Linked DNA regions of Homo sapiens: region 1 is linked to region 2. The links are contacts of gene promoters, found by promoter capture Hi-C in blood cells and fetal thymus (Javierre and others, 2016). All regions are on one chromosome and are shown on one strand. Each heading gives the region's core, a stretch centred on a gene start or on the middle of the fragment in contact. The rest is flanking DNA. Distances are from core to core; before and after follow the strand shown. Region 1 holds the start of RNF180 (ring finger protein 180). Region 2 holds the start of HTR1A (5-hydroxytryptamine receptor 1A).

Region 1 (5,020 bases), core at 1,317-3,816, 200 kb after region 2:
GGCATTGGTATTTTCACAAGCACTCCAGGTTATTCCAATGTGCTTCCAAGGTTGAGAATCATTGCTCAGAAGTTACACTTTTTAAGGTTGCTCAATAAATATGGGACACCCAGTTAAATTTTAACTTTTAGTAACCAAATATTTTTAGTGTGTTTTATACTAAGAATTAATTCACTGTTTATCCAAAATTCAATTTTAACTGGGCATCCTGTGTTTTTATTTGTGAAACTTGTCAACCTTATCATTTCTCTGAGTTCATCCCTGTGATTTCATCAGAAATAAGAGATTATATTACATTACTGAATTAGAAAGCATCAAGACTTTCATCTTGTCTTTCTTCTTTCAGTCCTGTTTGTAATAAATCTTGTACCTCCAAAAGTTTATTTCTTTAAAAAGGAAGCACTGCAAATTCAGCCAGGAGGCCAATCTTTTCCTCTAGAAGTTACCCACATTCTCCCTCTTGGGTGTTTCCAGGGTGGTTCCCTCCCGGAAAGGAAGGTCAAGTCTCTCTCAGGCTTCAAAGCTCTCTGACATTTCTTGCCATCTCATCTTTCTGATTCTAGGTGGAGAAAGTTTTCTGCTTTTAAAGATTCATGTGATTAGGCTGGGCCTACGTAGGTAATCCGAAATAGTCTCCCTATTTGGGTCAGTCACTTTTATGACATCAGTAAAGTCCCTTTTCTATATACTGTAACATCTTTGCAGGATCCAGAGATTAGAATGTGGACATTTTGGGGGAGCCATTCTGCCTACCACAGTTGTTGCGGGTGTCACCTTCACTTCTCTTTTCTATCAGATTCTCTGTCTAACCACTTTGTTATAGAATACATCCTCCAATTGCTTCCTGAGAAAGAATGCATGAAAATACTATTTAAACCTTTGTATATTTGAAAATGTCTTTTTAAACCTCATACTTCATCAATTTCAAAATTGGAAATCATTTTTTTCTCAGAATTTATCTTTTATTTATGTTTCTGTTGAGAATCCAATGCCATTCTGATTTCTAAATCTTCATAAATCACCTCCTATTTTTTCCTCCATGAAAGTTAAGATCTCTCTGACTCATGTGGTTTGAAATTTCACAACTTGGTTATAGAAAATTTTTATCCATTAAACTGAGAGCTCATGTGCTTCTGTCCTTTAGCTCTGAGAACTGTTGTCCTCGTTTTCTTTGGTAATTATCTTTCTTCTCTTTGTTCTACTAGCTGTTAGATATTCCACCTTTCCTTGCCTAACTGCCCTGGCTAGTGCCTCCACTATAATGTTGAATAGAAGTAGCAACAATTGACATCCTTGTCTTATTCCTGATTTTAGGTGAAAATGTTCATTCTTTCAAGATTAAGTATGATGTTAATTATGGATTTTTCAGAGGCTCTTTATTAGGTTGAAGAAGTTTCCTTTTATTCCTAGTTGAAGTGTTTATATCAAGAAAGGGTGTTAGATTTTGTCAATTGCTTTTCCTTCATCTTTTGAGATGATCATGTGGTTTTTACATTTAGTCTATTTAAAGTAGTGTGTTACATTAATTTTGTATGTCACACCAAACTTGCATTCCTGAGATAAATCCTACTTGGTCATGTTGTATAATTTTTTAAAATGTTGCTGGGTTTGGCTTGCTAGTATTTTGTTGAGGATTTTTATGTTACTATGCATAAGGTATATTGGTCTGTAGTTTTCTCGTGATGTCTTTCATTTTGTTCTTTATTTCCTTGTATTTCCAGATGGGAAGTCACTGCATACAGCCCTAATCTTAGGACAAGTTTCCAAGTAAGCCACTTCAGGCAAATAAAAATTTCTGTATCTAGCAGAGAAACAAAGCTGTATATTTTTTTTGAGGTTCCCTCCTAGCTCCCTTCCCTCTCCTCAAGCCAACTAATAAAACTTGCTTTTTATATTCCGAATCTTATTTATAGTCGTTTGATCATCTATGAGGCACCTGCAAGTCAACATTTACTGCACGCGGCCCCCTCACTCCCTAAATAAGCACTTTTGATTTACCGCCAGTCATCAACTCACCTCCCAACTGCAATTTGTCAAGAGTAGTGTCAGGTGCACTTTAGTGGTTAATCTCCTTGCACATCGGTGGAACTTTAGGCACAAGAAGGTAAGCAACGAAGATAGTGATATACGAAGGGAAAACTAAACCCAGGTAGCGTTGCCAGCTTAAAAGTCCTAGGCATGGGGATGGGTGGATGGGACGCCGGCCTAAGATTTTAGCAGGGAACAGACCCAGTAGTTGGCTTGGATCTCTTAACTCCAGAAAAGGCCGAGTGAGGACAAGGGAGACCACAGGGATAATTTCTGTGGCTCTGGTAAGGGGATGACAAGGGAGAAAAACTTTCCCACGGTTCCGTCTGGCCCGCGGCGCTTGTCTGCCTGCGCGGGGTCAAAGCCCGGCGCCGCCCACGCGCGGCTCGGGTGGGAACCCGCAGACGTGGGGCGAGCAGGGCCGCTGGCTGTGGCGGGCGAGCGCCGGGGCGCCACGTCCGAGGCCGCGGGGTCGGGGCTGCAGGCACAGCTCGAGCGCTTTCCGCGGGGTTTGGCTCCTGTCGCTTCCCGTCTCGCCGAACCGGCATCGCCGCCGCCGGAGCCGCAGCGAGTCCTCAGAGCCTGGCTGCTGGCGGCCGGGAGCGCCGGGACGGGGCGCGAAGCCGGAGGCTCCGGGACGTGGATACAGGTAAAGGCCGGCGGGTCGGAGTCGGGCGGGGCGCGGCGGCGGCGCCTCTCGGAGGGACCTGGCCTCGGCCGGGCCCTACCCAGCCGCGGTGGCCCGGGCCCCCACGTTGGCCCAGGCGGGGACGTGCCAAGGGGCTGGGCTAGGGTTGCCGCTGGCCTGGCCGCCTCTCGCCCGGCGGGCCTCAGGTGACGCGGCCGCGGCTTAACTTTCGCACCTGAGGCTCTCGGAGCGGCCTCGGGGCGCGCCCACCTGGAGGTTGGAATTACACAGGGTCGAAAAAGCTGAGTCCTGGAGGCGAGGCGCTGTAGGTGTGGCGGAGGAGGCCGGGGAAGGTGGGGTGGGTGCCAGGGGTCCAGTACTGAACCCTCTCCAGGTCTGAGGTGGGGAACTGCGTCTTGTTTAATTTCGGAGCTTGTGGGGACCACACAGCCCCTTCCACGGCCGATTCCCTCTGCACGGTTCCACTTTCCTTTGTCTAGCCCATTTCAGTATCGGCGTCGCAGTCGCTTTTGTTGCAGCCTTGGGTCCGGAGTGTACGACTTTCTGCTAGGCAGAGGTCATAAGCTCTGAAATCCATCGGGCGGAGGTGGGGAGATGGTCCTTTGGTGGGAAATTACTAGTGCTGTTATGAACACTAACACATATATTCCACCTTGTTTTTTTTCGAGATAGTGCTCATTATTTTCGTAGCATCTAACAGTTGTAAGTGTATCTGTGAGAGCATTCATTAGTTAACTTCAAAGGAGCATTATGCGGTCGGGTTACTATTATCCCATTTTATAGACCAGACAGCTGAGGCACCCAAGAGGCAAAGTGATTATATCAAAACTAAGCAGTCAATCCTTGTGGAATCTGTGATTAGAACTTGTCTGACTAGAGTTGTCCTTGGTCCAGTTGGTCTCTTAGTCTCAAACAAAATTTAGCTCTCAAAGATGGACGGTCTGATGCTCATTGTATTTTTATATACTCATTAATTGTTAAAACCTTTCTTAAAAAATAGAGTCAATTCCTTTCAGACTCCTGTTATAGTACCCCTAAAAGTGATACTTGAAAGATCATAAACACTTCAGTTTCAAATGAGTGGTATCATTTGAGTCGTAGAAAGAAGTAAAATTCCGTTGTCTTTTATCTGTCAGACTTTCGTCTCTTGTATAAATGTAGTGCCACTGGCAGCCCAAAGATACTTTGGTGACAATGGCAGAAACTCTAAATATTTATTTAATAAGTAGAATCGAGGAGGCGAGCTGTTAGGTTTCCCGGAATATTTGAGTAAGTTTTTTCTCATAAAGAATCAAAAATTTAGGAGAATAGTCATTTTAATTATTGTAATGAAAAATTATCTCGTAATTGTGTACGTGTTATGTTGTACTTTATCTCTCTGGAACCATCAACAATTTACCAGTTTCCCTAGGGTTTGCTCTTAGTTTTGTCAATGGTATTTTATTACCCCATTTTTCTTCCTCTCTTTCATTTTTTGTGTGTTTGGTTTTTCAAAGTGAAGATTTTTTCTTCGAAAATTCAAAAAATAATATTGAAAAAATCAACAAGATTTCTTTCTTGATAAAATAGACTTAATTAGCACTTTTTTGAGTGTGTCTGAGGACCGACACCAGCCTCTTTAATAAGCACCTCATACATGAAGCAGGAATTCTTCCAGGCAAGAATGCAATAAATTAATCATTTTAATATATTTCTGTAATATGACATAGCTACCTGAATGATAATGCTTTTTACTCTTACAATGTCTTTTTCATTAAGGAGCATAAAGATTAAAAATTTCGCTTAAATTTTGCTAACTACATAGTACAAGGGGACAGTGTGCTTAGACTTAATTGTTGCTTTCATGGAATAAACACAGTTCTCTCTCCCTTATACCACCTCCATTTGGCCATCTGAAAAAAGAATGGTGATGTGTCCTTTCCTTCATAGGGATATTTGGGGAATTAATGAAGTAATATCTCGAAAGTAGTTTGAACTCCACGGAAGAAAGCAGCTTTGTAACTTTGAAATGTGATTGCAGAGTCTTGAAACATTTTCCCTCCTTAAACGTGCTGTCGTTTATATTTTTAGAGAGTGGTCATTCCAAGTAGTCACCTCAGGAGGCTAAAAACTTATTCCAGTAGTGCTGCTGCCATTCATAATTATTTTGTATTTTTTGAAATTTCTAGTCAATTTACAAGCAAAATAAAAACATTTCATGATAACATTCATAAACACTTGTTTTTGTTTCTATTTTTTAATCAAAAAACTAATTCAGCTTGAGTACCTATTTTCTTTGCTAAATTTGGCAGAATGATTTCTACATGGTTGTAAAACTCAGTTCTACCTTCAAGATTTTACCAC
Region 2 (5,195 bases), core at 1,079-3,578:
AACATCCACCGCAAAGATTTAGGAGATAGAAGAGAGAAGAGGCAATTACTGGGATCAAAACTGATGATACAGGCGAAGTCTGAGCCAATGTCGCTTCTCACAAACTCTCTGAATTTCCTGGGCTCTCAACGCTCCTCCGCTGGGTCTCCTTTGCACAAAGGGCCCTGCCGTGGAGCAGGAAGTGGGGAGGGGACCAGGTCTGCAAGCCGTGAGCGGAGCAGAGAGAAAGAGGAGAAGTGGCGAATTATCTTAAGTGTTGATTCCCTAGGGTTGGGGGAAGCATAGTGAATGGGACGGATCCTGTAGCCTCGACTGGCCGGCTACTCCTCCGTCATCACTGGCGGCAGAACTTACACTTAATGATCTTCTTAAACGCGTTTTGAAAGTCCTTGTTGAAGTATGCGTAAATGACGGGGTTAAGCAGAGAGTTGGAGTAGCCCAGCCAATTGATTATGGCGCCCAACAGGGTGGGCATGTGGCAGCTGCTCTCGCAGAAGGGCAGAACAAGAGCCACGATGAAGAAGGGCAGCCAGCAGAGGATGAAGGTGCCCATGATGATGCCCAGCGTCTTCACTGTCTTCCTCTCTCGGGCCAGGGCCATCTTGCGCTTCGCCTCGGCGTTGCGCTCATTTTTCCTCTCGAAAGAGGCGGGGGCACAAGGGGTAGGACCAGCCTCGCTGGGCAGAGGCAAGTGCTCTTTGGAGTTGCCCACTCGGTGCACCTCGATCACCTCCAGGGCGGCGCCATCGTCACCTTGCCTCACCGCGCCATTGGCGCACAGAGCACCCCCAGCCTTGCTCTCCACGCCCAGCCTCCAGTTCCTGCTCCCCGACTCTCCATTCACACTCTTCTTGGGCTGCGGGGCGGGAGATGCTCCATGGCGGGTGTCCGCTCCGGTCTTCTCCACCTTTTTGACCGTCTTGCGGATGCGGAAGCGCGCAGCTCGGAATATGCGCCCATAGAGAACCAGCATGAGCAGCAGCGGGATGTAGAAAGCTCCAAAGGTGGAATAGATAGTGTAGCCATGATCCTTGCTAATGGTGCATGCGTCGGGGTCCGAGCGGTCTTCCGGGGTGCGCCAGCCCAGCATGGGCGGGATAGAGATGAGGAAGCCAATAAGCCAAGTGAGCGAGATGAGCGCAGCGGCGCGCCGGGGCGTCCTCTTGTTCACGTAGTCGATGGGGTCCGTGATGGCCCAGTACCTGTCCAGCGCGATGGCGCACAGGTGCAAGATGGATGAGGTGCAGCACAGCACGTCGAGGGCGATGAACAGGTCGCAGGTTACCTGGCCCAGTGTCCACTTGTTGAGCACCTGATACAGCGCGGCCATGGGCAGCACCAACACCGACACCATGAGGTCGGTGACCGCCAAAGAGCCAATAAGATAATTGGCCACGTTCTGCAGGGAGCGCTCCAAGGCGATGGCAGCCACCACGCACGCATTGCCCAGCACCGCGCAGAAGATGAGCGTGCCCAGCAGCAGAGAGGTGATCACTTGGTAGCTGACGGTCACGTCGGAGATACCAGTAGTGTTGCCGCCGGTCTCAAAGGGAGCCGGTGGTGATGTGGTGTTGTTGCCCTGACCAGGGCTGAGCACATCCATGCCTGCGCGCCCGGCGCGGGAAGGGGGAGGGAAGAAAAAGCAGCGCGAAGATTCGCCTCGCCCCTTCCCCTGGGGTCTTCCGCCCTTCTCCTGGGAAGTTTCGGAGGAAGGGAATGCAGAGACCCAAGCAGGAAGTTCTTACTGCTTCGGCGAAGGGTATCTCCGAGGAGCAGCTTTCAGGCGCTCCCTGGGCTCTCGCAGTCCAGCGCGTTCAGAAGCTCCAGCTGGGAAACTGGAGTTGGCCTGAAAGCAGCTCCAGGATCTCCCGGCGGCGGAGAGGTGGCTGGAACGTCTGTCTGTCGCTGTCCATTTTACTTTGCCGCTCCCGAACTGGCTGCCGGAGCTGGAGTCTCCCCACTAGCAAACAGTCTCCAATCCCAGAAATATCTAGAACCGAGAAGCCCCATCCTCCACGGTCACTCTGTGACCCTCCTCTCCCTATTTCCTTCCTTCCCTCTCTCCCCCTCTCTCCTCCTCTCTTCTCTCTCTTCTGCCTCTTTCGTCCCCCTTCTCCCCACCTGCCTTCCCTTTCAGTCTCCCTCTTCCTCCTCACTTCCCTTTATTTATCCCTCTGTGAGTCGCTTCGAAAGCCAGGCTCCTTCCCTCCCACTCTAACCCTCCCCTCCTAATACTTCCCCAACCCCGAGGAGTGCCTCTTTCCTCTGGGTCCCCGCCCTCCTCTCCCTCTAGCTCAGCGTCTTTGCATTCGAGTCTCTTTTTGTCAACAGAGACTCAGAACTCACTTACACACACCAGATCCCTGCCGGTCAGACCAAGGTTGTAACAAATAAACTCCGCCTCCAACCCAGCAAAACTGGGGTTGGAAAAACTTGGGGGAGGGAATTCCAACTACTCCTTGCCTCATATTATCTGCCAAATTCTTAAATCGTGTCAGCATCCCAGAGTGGCAATAGGAGATGAGAAAAGGAAGCATAGGGAGCCTGAATGGGAAGGTGAACAGTCCTGGGTCAGTCTCCCAATTATTGCTAATTGATGGAAGAAGACCGAGTGTGTCTTCCTTTTTAAAAAGCTACCTCCGTTCTCGCGCCATTGCACTCCAGCCTGGGCGACAGAGCGAGACTCCGTCTCCAAAAACAAACGAACAACGACGACAACAACAACAAAACGGTACCTCCGTTATCATCTAACAGTCCAGCCTTACTCCCTCAGGGAGAATATTGCCTGTGACTTTTTTTTTAACGTTGGGGAACCGGGAGAGAACGAAATTATAAAGGACGTGTCAAAGGACAAGGAGAGGTAAACAACTGCATCTCGAAATGAAGAACAAAACTCAGTGTGATATATATTCTAAACACACACACACTTTTCCATCACTACTACACTTGTAATTTCAGTGACACTGCCACTTCCCATAGCTTTGTGGCTAGTAAATTCAGGGATGGAAATATTTTGCATATGTGTTCTAAGTGAAGCCTGGCATTTCACATGGCCTTTTGCACTTCTTACCAGAGCCTGCAAACCTCTGGGGGAAACTTGGTGGAATCCCGGTTCGCTAGCCGGCTAGCCTCTCTTAATCTCAGAAACTGGGTTCAGCACCTGGGACAGTTCTAAGCAATGAGGTTTTATGTCGCCACCTTCTGGCAAATGTTTTAGAGTGCCATCTGGAAACCCTTATGCAGAAATGAAGCAAGTATTGAGGAAATACAACAACTTTTAGAAAGAGGAAGACAGTTATTAAAAGACAAGGTAGTATTGAGTTTTGTCTCCTTCCTATTTTCTTTAAAAATTTATTTTAGTGCCCTCTTTTGCTCTGAACCTTATATATCAGGCCTATTATATGTTTTAGCTTCCTTCGAAAGCCTGAAGTATCTGTCATTCACAAGTTCTAACTGGGAATGCCATTTTAATAAAGCTAGGCTAACACTTTCACCTGTGTTGGTTTTGTGCTGTCATAACCTGAACTTTGGAACTGACATAAATTTACCTTTTGTTGGAGAAACGAATAGTATTGCATTTTCCAAATGATTTAACATTTGGAAATGTTAAATCACTGAAAATAAAGATACTTACAAGGGTTTGTTCTAAGCTGTTTCCTTTAACAAGAAAAACAAATTTAATCACATTTGAGCATTGGTAAAGAATGGGACTTCTAAGCAACTACAGTAAACATACCACACAACATTTCACTTATACATCCTGATTGCATGCCTGAGGTGAAAGGAATGCAATCTCAAAAGCAGTTGACACTGGATAACATGAACAGATTCACTACAGATTGCAATAATCTTAATATTGTGTTCAAATCTGAGCTCTGAATTTCATAGCTCTGAATTCTCCAAGCCCAAACAAAAGAGCAATCACCAAAGCATCAAAAAGAATCCAGTTGGGCCAATGCATTACAATACAGGACAGTGTGTTTGGATAAGGTTTTGTTTGTTTTTTTTTTTTATAGTTCAGTGCTGGGCACAGTTCCCACTCAATCATTTCAGCATGCCACCACAATGAGCCTGCCATTTGTGATGATTCATGGCATTGAAAAGAAAGAGATAAGTATACATGGTAATGCTGTTTACAGACTCTGAAGAAGTCTTTTTAAGATTTGTGAAGGTATCTATTTCCACTTCTAAAGTCTCTTCACAAATACAGAACTATATTTACAGTTAAAATAGAGTTAGAGGTCCAAAAATTATAATGGGAAAATATTTAAAAGCTGAATTATCTAAAATTAAACTTTGAAATTATAGTTGAGACTATAAACAAAGTAAAATAAAGGAAACTTAAAATTTAAGAAGCAAATATATGCATATCAAGAACATAATTAAGAATTGTGTCAAACAACACATGTAAATATGTAAATCACAAATAAATCAATAAATATGTTAGTTAGAATTCTGCTTTCATCTGTTGGATCCCAAATAGTTTAATAACTGACAAATTTATTTTTTCTCATCAAGAAAGTTAAAATGCTGTAAAATCTGGAATTAATATTCCTGAGGTATAGCATTTGTTATTCTGCTTCAATATGCTATGATGTAGAATTTATCAAAGTTTTTAAAAATCCAAAGTAATTCAAGTTTTTTCTTAGTAATAATATACATAATATATCAAACATTTTATTTCTTACAATTTAAAAGTTTTTAAAGGCACACTTATGAATACTAGGAGGGAAACAGAAGTATGAAAGTATGCAGCACTGACTATGGTTCCATAGTCTGCAAGTGACTAATAGATATTTATGTTTAACTTTTTAAAACTAATAATACTGTGATATATAATAAATGATATATGCAGAATGATATTGCGTTTCTTCATTTTCACTTAGCCAATTCTTCTATGTTTAACTCTTAAAGATACAGAATACCAAATATTTCTTAAGTAAATGCTGCAAACCAAAGCTCCTGCATAAAGAGATGAGCTCTTATTCTTCAAGGCCTCTAAAGTTAACCTAAAGAAAAGCAAGCTTTATAACGGATATTATTGATGATATCATTTGAAAAGAAAAATTCTAGTCATTCTGCCTTTATTCCTTTTTGAATTTACTAGATGCCAGCATAAACTTGTCAGGTTATGAATTTAGGGTATGATATATCATCCATCATGTGAAATTTCTCTAAAATAGTTTTAAAAAGAT

The links. The method cuts DNA at HindIII sites, captures the fragments that hold promoters and counts their contacts. A CHiCAGO score of 5 or more calls a contact.
Region 1: the fragment with the promoter of RNF180 here is called in contact with the fragment with the promoter of HTR1A in region 2 in 2 of 17 cell types (naive CD8 T cells and non-activated CD4 T cells); the score reaches 6.1 in naive CD8 T cells.

What each region holds. Positions count from the first base shown.
Region 1 is chr5:64,163,277-64,168,296 of GRCh38, forward strand. RNF180 (ring finger protein 180) reads left to right here and starts at 2,567. Exons shown (of 8, transcript NM_001113561.2): 1 at 2,567-2,677. The HindIII fragment of the contact is 6,760 bases long and covers 1-5,020 here.
Region 2 is chr5:63,960,117-63,965,311 of GRCh38, forward strand. HTR1A (5-hydroxytryptamine receptor 1A) reads right to left here and starts at 2,329. Exons shown (of 1, transcript NM_000524.4): 1 at 1-2,329. The coding sequence starts at 1,603. The coding sequence ends at 335. RefSeq lists a silencer at 206-427 and an enhancer at 1,066-2,043. The HindIII fragment of the contact is 6,748 bases long and covers 1-5,022 here.